Regions from separate parts of the Homo sapiens genome. Here region 2 is linked to region 1. The links are contacts of gene promoters, found by promoter capture Hi-C in blood cells and fetal thymus (Javierre and others, 2016). All regions are on one chromosome and are shown on one strand. The core of a region is centred on a gene start or on the middle of the fragment in contact, and the rest is flanking DNA. Distances in the headings are between cores, read along the strand shown.

Region 1 (4,099 bases), core at 543-3,042:
TGGTGGTCAGAGCTGCCCAGGACAGGGCTTCTCACCCCTGACTCTTCATGGGACTCCCCAGGCATCTTTCTTAAGCTGCCCCTTAGGAGATCCCACCCAGGTAACAGAAGCTTCTTGGAGCAAAAAGAGCCGGGGGCTTCTGCAGGCCATTGACCCGTAGCCTCCAGACCCTCCCCACCTGGCCCAGACACCCCCTCTCTGCCCAGTACGGTGAGGGCCTCCTGGCCTGCTCCTGAAACACCACATGCAAACCACCTGGGTGGATCAGCTTGGGCCCCCAACCCTATGCCCTTCTCAAGCCAGCTTTCCACGCCCTCTGCTGTGCCTCCCGGGCTGGTGTCAAGGAAGGCGTCTGCTCCGATGGCGTCTGCTCCGACACTCACAGTTCTGCCACCCTGGACCCTCTCGGTGGCCTCAATGGGGTGGTCCAGGCTGGGCCGCCCCAGGTAGACGTCCTGGCTGGGTGAGAAGCTGGAGAGCAGGTGCAGGAGGCTCCTGGCGTTCACATAATTGTCATCATCCACGTGGCAAAACCACCTGTGGGCGAGGGGAGTCCTGGGCACGAGGGCCTGGCATGGCTGGACAGGAGGCCCCCACCCAGCTTGGCTCTGAGCTCTCTGCGGGTCGGGTCAGCGCCGCGTACTTGCGCCCGGACTCAATGAACTTGTCATACTCCACGGACATCTTGCAGCAGAGGGCCTGACGAGTGCGCACCGCCGAGCAGTTGGTGTTGATGACACGGTCGCCTGCGAATCAGAGACGGGAAGCACGCACGTAGAGGATGGCACTGGGGTTGGGGTAAGGCCTGTGCCCCACCTGCCCCCAAGGGCCAGGGCACAACGTGGCTGTCTGACATGCCTGGACACCTTGCCTGGGTCCAACCACAGCCCTAGCCCTCACGCGCTGACCCTGCTGGTGCCACCGAGGCTGAAGCAGGCGGCCATCGGTTGGGATCTCTTGAGTGGAAACAGGACGGAGGCAGCTCGCCCTGACCTGGCCTGGAAGGGCGGATTCCCTGCTGGCGCTTCTTCAGGGGACGTGGCACTAGCCCCACGCCCCGGGAAGCGGCTAGTGTGAGAGGCTGGTGGGGAGCAGAGCTTGGCTGGCAGGGTGGGCCCTCCGCAGGCCGCGTGACCTGGGCAGCGTCGGGGCCTCCCCGGGCCTCGGGAGCCTGGGCAGAGAAAGGCACCCACAGCAGCGAAGGGGCCGTGGCTTCGGAGCGAGAAAGGCTCGGGGGGCAGATCCCGCGGGCGCCGGGGAGTGGGGGACACTCACCGCCCTGGAGCTCGAGCTCAGGGTCGTCCCCGTCGGTGAAGATAAACGTCTGGGGGAGAAACAATCTATGAGGCTTCTGGGGCGCTGCCCAGGCCGGAGACCGACCCGCCCCGCGCGGAGCCTCCGGGGGCCTGGGCCGGGCCTAGACCCTGGGAGGCGGGGCGGGTGGGCGTGGGGCTCGCCGTCGGGGTCGGGGTCCGGCGCACCTGCTGGCGGGCCCGGGAGATCCAGGTGCGCAGCAGCAGCCGCAGGCGCGGCCCGTGGTTCTTCCGGGTGGTCTTGACGGCGATGAAGACGTCGTCAGGCCGCAGGCTGGGGGCAGCGGGCCGGGACGGGGGCGCGCGCGGGGCCGGGGCGGGGGTCCGGGCCGGGGCGGGCGCGCGGGGCAGCGGCAGCGGCAGTAACAGCAGCGCGGCCAGGGCCGCGGCCAGCGCGAGGCAGGCCCGGCACAGCGCCCCACGCGCGCGGCTCATGCGGCCGCCGGGACCCCCGGCGCTGCGAGCGGAGAACCTGGCCGGAGCCGTGGGTGGGCGGCGGCCCCTTTAAGAACGCAGCGGCCCCGCCCCGCCCCGCGCCCCGGAAGCGACGGCTTCGCTGCCCCGGAAGTGGACGGCACGCCGCGGCGGGGTGGGTGCAAGATGCCGCTGCCGGTTCAGGTGTTTAACTTGCAGGTAACGAGCCGAGGCCGCCCCGGGCCTCCGCGCCCCCGCGCCCCCCGCCACTGGGGCCGGGCTGAGGTCGAGCAGGGGCGCGGGGCCTGCGCCAGGAGTCGGTCGGGCACGCTCCGTGCCGGGCCTCCGCGGGCAGCGCGCGTCGGGGGCTGCAGGGCCGAGGGCGCGTCTCCGCCGTGGCTGCGCGCTGCGATCGGGGGCCGCCGGGCCGCGCCCGCCCCGCCTCCCCTCCCAGCAGCTCACGGGAGAGGTTCCCGGCCGCCCCGACGCTAACGCTCTTTCTCCCTTCAGCAGCCAGCCAGCTCTGTGTCAGGGTCGGGGGGTGCAGAAAGTCAGGACAGAATGAGGGATAGCTCGGCCCCCAGCTCGGCCTCCTCGTCAGTGACAGATCTGTACTGCACCCCTCACAGCAGTAGGTCAGACCTCGTCCTGCCCGGCACGGCCGGGGACTTCAGCCTGAGCGCCAGCCTGTCGGCCTGTACGCTGCTCTACGAGGTACCTTCCAGGACAGGGACCCCCGAGCGAGGGAGGGGGGAGCAGGGCCCCGGCCGCCCCTGCTGTGGCTGGGCCCCTGCTGCTCTGCTGGCCGAGGACAGGGACTCAGTGCCAAGCGCAGGAGGGGAGGGAGCCCCGGTGGGCCCGGGGCCTGCGGAGGGAGCCGAGCTCTTGGTGCTTTTCCCGAAGGAGCGCGGGAGGCCCACGGGTCCGGCGAGTGCCCGGCATGGCGGCTTTTCCAGCCTGCTTTGTGTTAAGCCGAGGTCCTGGCTTCTCTGTGTCTCCCAGCTGGGGGCCATGAGGCTCCCTGAGATGACTCTTTTCCCCTTCTCCCAACTCCGTGGCGTGACTCTCAGCCCAGTATTGCTGCTCCGCTGCTCAGGACAGATTCCGGGGGCTGGTCCTCCTGCCTCCTGGGGTTGAGGTGGCGTCCCGTTCTTCTCCGTGGCTTGGAGGAAACTACATCAGGATGGTGGCTGGGAACGTGTAGGGGCCCTCAGAGGCCCCTGTGTAGTTGGTTGTCCCCTGTCTGCTTTCTGGCTTTCAGAGATGAGCGGCTAGAATCAGGCGAGGGGTTTCTGCTTCTGAGCCTTAGAGTCTTGTGAGGAGACCCCTCCCTGATGTGGTGGCACAGGAGCCTGGGTGGGGGCGGGGGTGACTGGGAGGGCACACCTGGGGGACAGCAGCGGCGGGAGTGTGGTCCGACTGGCCTGGAAGATCTTGGGCAGAGCTGACCTCAGAGAACAGTGCGGGTCTCTCGCCCTCCTGGGGCAGTCCCCAGGACGAGGTGCCAGGTGCCTGGCCCATGTTGCAGGGGGCCGTGGAGCCCATGCAGATCGACGTGGACCCCCAGGAAGACCCGCAGAATGCACCTGACGTCAACTACGTGGTGGAGAACCCCAGCCTGGTACGGAGCCCAGTGGGGGGACCTTGGGTGTCTCAGTCCTGCTGAGGGGTCCAGGGCACACTCCCCGCTGCAGCCTGCACAGCAGGTAGAATGATCCTCCTCAGTGATCGCTGTCGTCTTTTTCTGACCCCGAAACCATCAGCGTTTCTGATTGCGCACTCACATGAGGCTTGTAGCTCAGCTTCAGATGCTGCTCATGGAGAAGCCAGGGCAGGTCTCCTCCCCGCTCAGCCTAGCGACCAGCAGTCACTAGTGGGTGTCTATCCCCGAAAGCCCCCGGGTGCAGGGTCCCACTCCTGAGGCTCCTGCGCCAGGCCCACCCCAGCGGTCTTCGTAGCTCCTGGGACAGCAGTCAGTCTCGTACCCCCATGCCCGGTTCTGGTTATGGGCCCAGGGCGACATTCTGGCTAGGACAGTCAGGCCCCAACTCCTGACCCTCAGGGCCTGGGGCCAGGGTCCTGCCTCCCATCCTGCCTGACTCTTGTCTGTGCCTGCTCCCAGGATCTGGAACAGTACGCGGCCAGCTACAGCGGCCTGATGCGCATCGAACGGCTGCAGTTCATTGCTGATCACTGCCCCACGCTGCGGGTGGAGGCCCTGAAGATGGCCCTCTCCTTCGTGCAGAGAACCTTTAACGTGGACATGTACGAGGAGATCCACCGCAAGCTCTCAGAGGCCACCAGGTGAGGCCAGGGGCTTGGCGAGAGGAAGCAGAGGCCACCAAGGGAGCGCGGGTGTCTGGGACTGGGCC
Region 2 (6,152 bases), core at 594-3,093, 130 kb after region 1:
GCTAAGCTGCTAAGTTTGTGGTAATTTATACACAATGTGTTCTTGTTTTGTTTAATTATTTTTAGGTTTTTTTTGGATACAGAGTCTTGCTCTGTCACCCAGGCTGGAGTGCAGTGGCGTGATGTTGGCTTAGTACAGCCTCCACCTCCTGGGCTCAAGTGGTCCTCCTGCCTCAGCCTCTTGAGTAGCTGGGACTACAGGTGCATACCACCACGCCTAGCTAATTTTTTGTATTTTTAGTAGAGACGGGGTTTCACCGTGTTAGCCAGGATCGTCTCGATCTCCTGACCTCGTGATCCGCCCGCCTCGGCCTCCCAAAGTGCTGGGATTACAGGCGTGAGCCACTGGGCCCAGCCCCACAGATACATTTTTAAATCCCTGTAACTGCAAAAATAAATAAATCTTTAACACAACACAGCAGCTGTCACCATGCCTATCTTCCCACTTTAAACAACTGGGACACTGGGCAGTAAATGGGGCACGGCTTTCACAGAGCGAACGATGAACACACGAGCGGTGCGGGGCTGAGGCCCCTCAGAGAAGGTCCTCGCGAGATGGGCCCACTCGCCGCCCGGCTTCTCTCCACAGGCCATTCCGGATCCCCGCAGGGACGGCAAACCACGCAGAGCACGGTGGTCTTGCTGTGACGAGGAGATGAAGGTTGGAGTTTGGAGAAGCTGAAGTGGCTGAAATGGGCTTTATGAGGCAGAGGGGCAGAGAGGAGGGGAACCTGGGATCTGTGCAGGGATCCCCTAGAAGCTGTGGCTGACAGCCACATGCAAATACACAGGAGAAGCCAACACCGGCTGGGCCAAGAGCAACTCGTGGGAACGAAGCAGCCAGCACGGGGCTCCACGTGCGCTGATTCCCAGAGCTCGTCAGGGCGGCCGGCGGAGCATCCTTGGAGCTCTCGCTCCAGGGCACGCAGTGGGGTCTGGGAGTCATAGTGCTGAGTCAGCCCTGGTGAAAAGGCTTCTCTAGACCTGCCCCACCTGCCCTCGCACTGATTTTAAACAAGTCTCAAATGGGTCAAGCTGCCATGTAAATACTTAACTGCAGCCAAACAAAAAACAGCACAGCCAAAACCAGATGCTCGCCAACATCATATTCACCATGTCTGACATCCAGTGAAAACTTACCAGATGGGCAAGGAAGTAGAAAAAAATGTAGCTCTCTCCAGTAGAAAAATCAGCCCATAGAAACAGACTCAGAAATAAAGATATGATGGAATTAGCAGATAAATACATTTAAGCAGCTATTACAAATAAGTTCAGAGATTTAAAGGCAACCGTGCACATAATGAGGAGAGAAATTAAATGTATAAAAAAGTCTAAATATTGTAATATGTGCTGTTTTCTTTCAGTGAATGGAAGAGTTTAACGAAGAAGGAACATTGGAATCAAGAGTTGAGAACATAAGCCAGGCGGGGTGGCTCACGCCTGTCATCCCAGCACTTTGGGAGGCCAAGGCAGGTGGATCACCTGAAGTCAGGAGTTCAAGACCAGCCTGGCCAACATGGTGAAACCCTGTCTCTACTAAAAATACAAAAATTAGCCAGGCGTGGTGGCGCATGCCTGTAATCCCAGCTACTCTAGAGGCTGACACAGGAGAACTGCTTGTACCCAGGAGGTGGAGGTTGTAGTGAGCTGAGATTGCGCCACTGCACTCCAGCCTGGGTGACAGAGTGAGACTCCATCTCAAAAAAAAAAGAAAAAAAGTTGAGAACATTATCACAGCATGTTTTTTTTCTTCTGCATTAGTTCATATTATGAGGGTTTTCTACATACACAAGTAATAGGTAAATCTAAATGTGCTTTCTTGAAGATACATGATGTTTTATTTCAGTCAATGGAAGTATTTAACAAAAAAAAAAAAGAATGCTGGAAGGAAGAGCTAAGAACGTTATTACAACATGTTTCTTTCAGCATTGGTACTTTTCCTTTTTTTTTTTTTGAGACCCAGTCTCGCTCTGTTGCCCAGGCTGAAGTGCAGTAGCACCATCTCGGCTCACTGCAGCCTCCGCCTCCTGGGTTCAAGTGATTCTCCTGCCTCAGCCCCCCGAGTAGCTGGGATTACAGGCGTGTGACACCACACCGGGATAATTTTTGTATTTTTAGTAGAGATGGGGTTTTACCATGTTGTCCAGGCTGGTCTCAAACTCCTGACCTCAGGTGATCTGCCAGCCTTGGCCTCCCAAAGTGCTGGGATTATAGATGTGAGCCACCGCGCCCGGCCCACCAAACATTTATTTATATTTTATTTTTTATTTGTTTATTCATTTTTTTGAGACAGAATCTCACTCTGCTGCCCAGGCTGGAATGCAGTGGCACGATCTGGGCTCACCAAAACCTCCGCCTCCTGGGTTCAAGTGATTCTCCCACCTCAGCCTCTGGAGTATCTGGGACTACAGGCGTGAGCCACCATGCCTGGCTAATTTTTGTATTTTTAGTAGAGACGGGGTTTTACCATGTTGGCCAGGCTGGTCTCGAACTCCTGACCTCAAGTGATCTGACAGCCTTGGCCTCCCAAAGTGCTGGGATGACAGGCGTGAGCCATCACACCCGGCCCACCAAACACTTTTAAACCATCAGAACTCACTTACTATCATAAGCACAGCATCGGGGAAACCGCCCCCATGAGCCAATCACCTCCCATCAGGGTCCTCCCTTGACACATGGGGATTACAATTTGAGATTAGATTTGGGGGGGGACATAGAGCCAAATGATATCATACAGCATACACATTCATCAAAATTCATCAAGTGTAGAGTTAAAATGGATGAGTTTAGCATATGTATTCTGTAATAAAGTTGACTTGAATGTGTATGGGAAATAGAATGCTATCTTTGTTCAAGGAAGTGTTCGCCCCAACGGATAAGAAACACATGAGGACATGAACAATCAGACAAGACAGACGAGGAGATTCTTTGTTTTTGTTTTCCTTTTTGCAGAGATGGGGTCTCACTATGTTAACCAGGCTGGTCTCCAACTCCTGGGTTCCAGCAATCCTCCTGCTTCTGCCTCCCTAAGTGCTGGGATTATAGGTGTGAGCCACCACGCTTGGCAAGAGGAGATTCTTAGTGCAGAATCAAGCAGGAGCACCTTTATGGCTCTTATTACAGACTGAGAAACACCATCCTCTGGCCATGCTCCCTCCAGCAGGCGGCCCCTTCTGCATGTCTTCCCACACCACCCCTGCGTGACCAGACATTCTATCTGTCTTGTTCACTGTCTTTCTCCCCCAAGAAAATGTGAGGCCAGGGACTCAATCTGTTCAGTTTTGAATCCTTAGTACCTACAACAGCACCTGCCCATAGGAGACCCTCAATGGAAACATCTGCCTGGGGACAGTTACCTTTCAATGTCCTGCTGGGATCGGGCCACCTGTGCCTTGAGCTTCACCTCTTCTTCCTGCAGCGTCTGAATCTGAAGGTCTCTGGAGACCATCTCCTTAGATAGTTGAGCAATTTGAGCATCCCAGGCAGATTTTACAGTTGATGCATCTTCACGAAGTCTAAACATAGAAGGGAAACTATGTAGATGTGGTTCTCACTCACTAAAGTTGTCTCTTACACAGCACCCCCCAGCAAATACACATGCGCGCGCGCGCGCGCACACACACACACACACACACACACACACACACACACACACACACACACACAGCTCTCGAGCTGAAACTTCCTGGCCTAGATGATGAAGATGGTTCCGCACAGGAAGAATTAAGCATCCGTCCACCCAACTACCTCCATGCATGCATGCATCCCACCAACCCAGATTCCAGCTAAGCTCCTGCAGCACACCAGGCCATGTGCCAGGTTCTTGGTGGGCGGAAGGTGAGGCATGACATGCCTCCCATGCCCACAGAGCCCACAGTCATGAGGTAGCAACACCTCTGACCAAGTCACCCTCATGTCCTCGCCATGCCTAGCACAGCACCCCACGTGCAGAGACATTCAGCACATTTTCAAGTTGCATGGTAAAATAAGGTTCTACAGAACCCACTAAATAACCTTAACAGCAGGATGCCTCTGGGAGAATTACCCAAAATGGAATAAATTTCCCAAGAAAATGTTCGGGACAATATCTAGAGCTGTTAACTCAGGTAGCCACAGTACTAACCTAGGCAAGATGATACCTGCCCACTTGCATGGGCGTAGCCCTGTTTCCCTAAGAGATGGGAAGACGGCCCACAAGAGCAACTGTAGCATCACACACGACAGACCTTCAGATGCTCCTGTGCTGATGAACTTCCAACTGACAGTGAGAAGCAGAGGGTGAGCTGGCTGCCCCCACAGAGGCCACCCCTTGTCACGAGGGGTTAAACCTAGCATGAGTGGTGCACTCAAGCCTGGTATTATATAGAATGGAAAAAAAGCCACCCTGCCAACAGTTTTGGACACATATTTTAGGACAGCTGAAAAGAGACACCATCAAAGGCATCAACGTTTCCAGCCATCTCTGGCAATGTGGGCTGACACAGAATGTGTGTTTGGACTCCTTCCACGCTTTGCGTGGGTACTGAAGAAACAGACTCACCAACGGCCTCTGGTGCTCTGGGAAGCAGCTTTATCCCTGGACCATGAGCCACCTAATTATGAGGGCCAGCCCCACTCCCAGCATCAGGATGGTGATGTGACTCTGCCTGGGGCCTCCTGGACAGTCTCCCCTGATGCACAGTCTCAGGTGTAGATCAATGGGCACGGCTGCTGAGCCCTCACTGCAGGGACAGAGGACACCACGGCCACGAGCGGGAGTGCACTGCTCACCACAAGAGCGTAAATGCTTTTTGTGAGAAGCCAAGGTGGAAGGATCACCTGAGCCCAGGAGGTCGAGGCTCCAGTGAGCCATGATCGCACTGCTGCTTTCCAGTCTTCTCTTTCTTCTGCGTAATGGGATGGTTAAAATAAAAAAGAAGGCTGGGCATGGTGGCTCATGCCTGTAATGCCAGCACTTTGGGAGGCCGAGGCAGGCAGACTGCTTGAGGTCCCAGAGCTCGAAACCAGCCTGGGCAACATGACTAAACCCTGTCTCTACTCAAAATACAAAAATTAGCCGGGTGTGGTGGCACGCACCTGTAGTCCCAGCTACCTGGGAGGCTGAGGGGGGTGGATCACCTGAGCCCAGGAGGTGTAGGCTGCAGTGAACCGAGATCACGCCACTGCACTCCAGCCTGGGTGACAGAGTGAGACCTTGTCACAAAAAAAAAAAGGAAGAAAAAAATGCTTTCCTGTTAATCCTACAGGTTTTCTCTGTAGTTCCAAACTCCAAACCAGCACAAAACTGCTGAAAAACCTATTAAGAACTACAAAGCTGGCCAGGCACGGTGGCTCATGCCTATAATCCCAGCACTTTGGGAGGCTGAGATGGGAGGATCACTTAAGTCCAGGAGTTTGAGACCATCCTGGGCAACATGGGGAGACCCCATCTCTACTTCATTTTAAGAAAGAAAAAAAGGAACTGAAATAAATATGGCTGTCACTTATTTCTATTTTTTTAGTTAAAAAATTATTTTTTTAGAGACAGAGTCTTGCTCTGCCTCCTGAGTAGCTAGGACTATAGGTGAGCACCACCGTACCTGTCTAACTTTTCTTTGGGTAGACATAGGGTCTTGTTTCGTTGCCCAGGCTCAAGTGATCCTCCTGCCTCAGCCTCCCAAAGTGCTGGGATTAGAGGTGTGAGCCACTGTGCCTAGCCGAGGTCATCATTTAATGCCAGCTCATACTTGGGATCATGGGATCCGAATGATAGCTGAACTCCCCAGAAGTAAAAGAGGAAAGATACAAGCTTTAGAATGTAGAAGTCTGTTTCTTACTACCAAAATAATACTGCATATGTGTAGTAATAATTCTCAATGAGCAAAGAGTATTTACGGACAGAAAACGAAAAGACATTCAAGAACAACATTTAGCTTAAGACTGCAACGGGGGGCCAAGGTTAGGCGCACAGGAGTGGTGACGCCCAGTCACCTCGGCCGCACTACATGGAAAATGGAAGCACCTGCGGCCCCTCTCACCCCGTATACCGACCACAGAGGTCGCCCCGCACACCGACCGCAGAGGCTTTAGGTGCCTCCCATGCATGGCGTCTTCAACCACTCTGCTTGAATCTGACTGATCAAACAACAACACAGCATGCTGAATCTAGAGAAA

What was found. The method cuts DNA at HindIII sites, captures the fragments that hold promoters and counts their contacts. A CHiCAGO score of 5 or more calls a contact.
Region 2: a fragment that was not itself captured here is called in contact with the fragment with the promoter of RFNG in region 1 in 1 of 17 cell types (total CD8 T cells); the score reaches 5.0 in total CD8 T cells.

The regions. Positions count from the first base shown.
Region 1 is chr17:82,050,019-82,054,117 of GRCh38, forward strand. It overlaps RFNG (RFNG O-fucosylpeptide 3-beta-N-acetylglucosaminyltransferase), which reads right to left and starts at 1,793. Exons shown (of 8, transcript NM_002917.2): 1 at 1,482-1,793; 2 at 1,276-1,324; 3 at 644-746; 4 at 384-537. The coding sequence starts at 1,748. GPS1 (G protein pathway suppressor 1) reads left to right here and starts at 1,880. Exons shown (of 13, transcript NM_001321092.3): 1 at 1,880-1,946; 2 at 3,256-3,348; 3 at 3,850-4,031. The coding sequence starts at 1,914. RefSeq lists silencers at 1,328-1,477, 1,748-1,997, 2,058-2,187 and an enhancer at 1,438-2,107. The HindIII fragment of the contact is 9,575 bases long and covers 109-4,099 here.
Region 2 is chr17:82,180,419-82,186,570 of GRCh38, forward strand. It overlaps CCDC57 (coiled-coil domain containing 57), which reads right to left. Exons shown (of 19, transcript NM_001394669.1): 8 at 3,356-3,514. Among named protein-coding and RNA genes, the nearest start is that of CCDC57, 29 kb to the right of the region's middle. RefSeq lists enhancers at 1-230, 231-1,197. The HindIII fragment of the contact is 7,884 bases long and covers 1-5,785 here.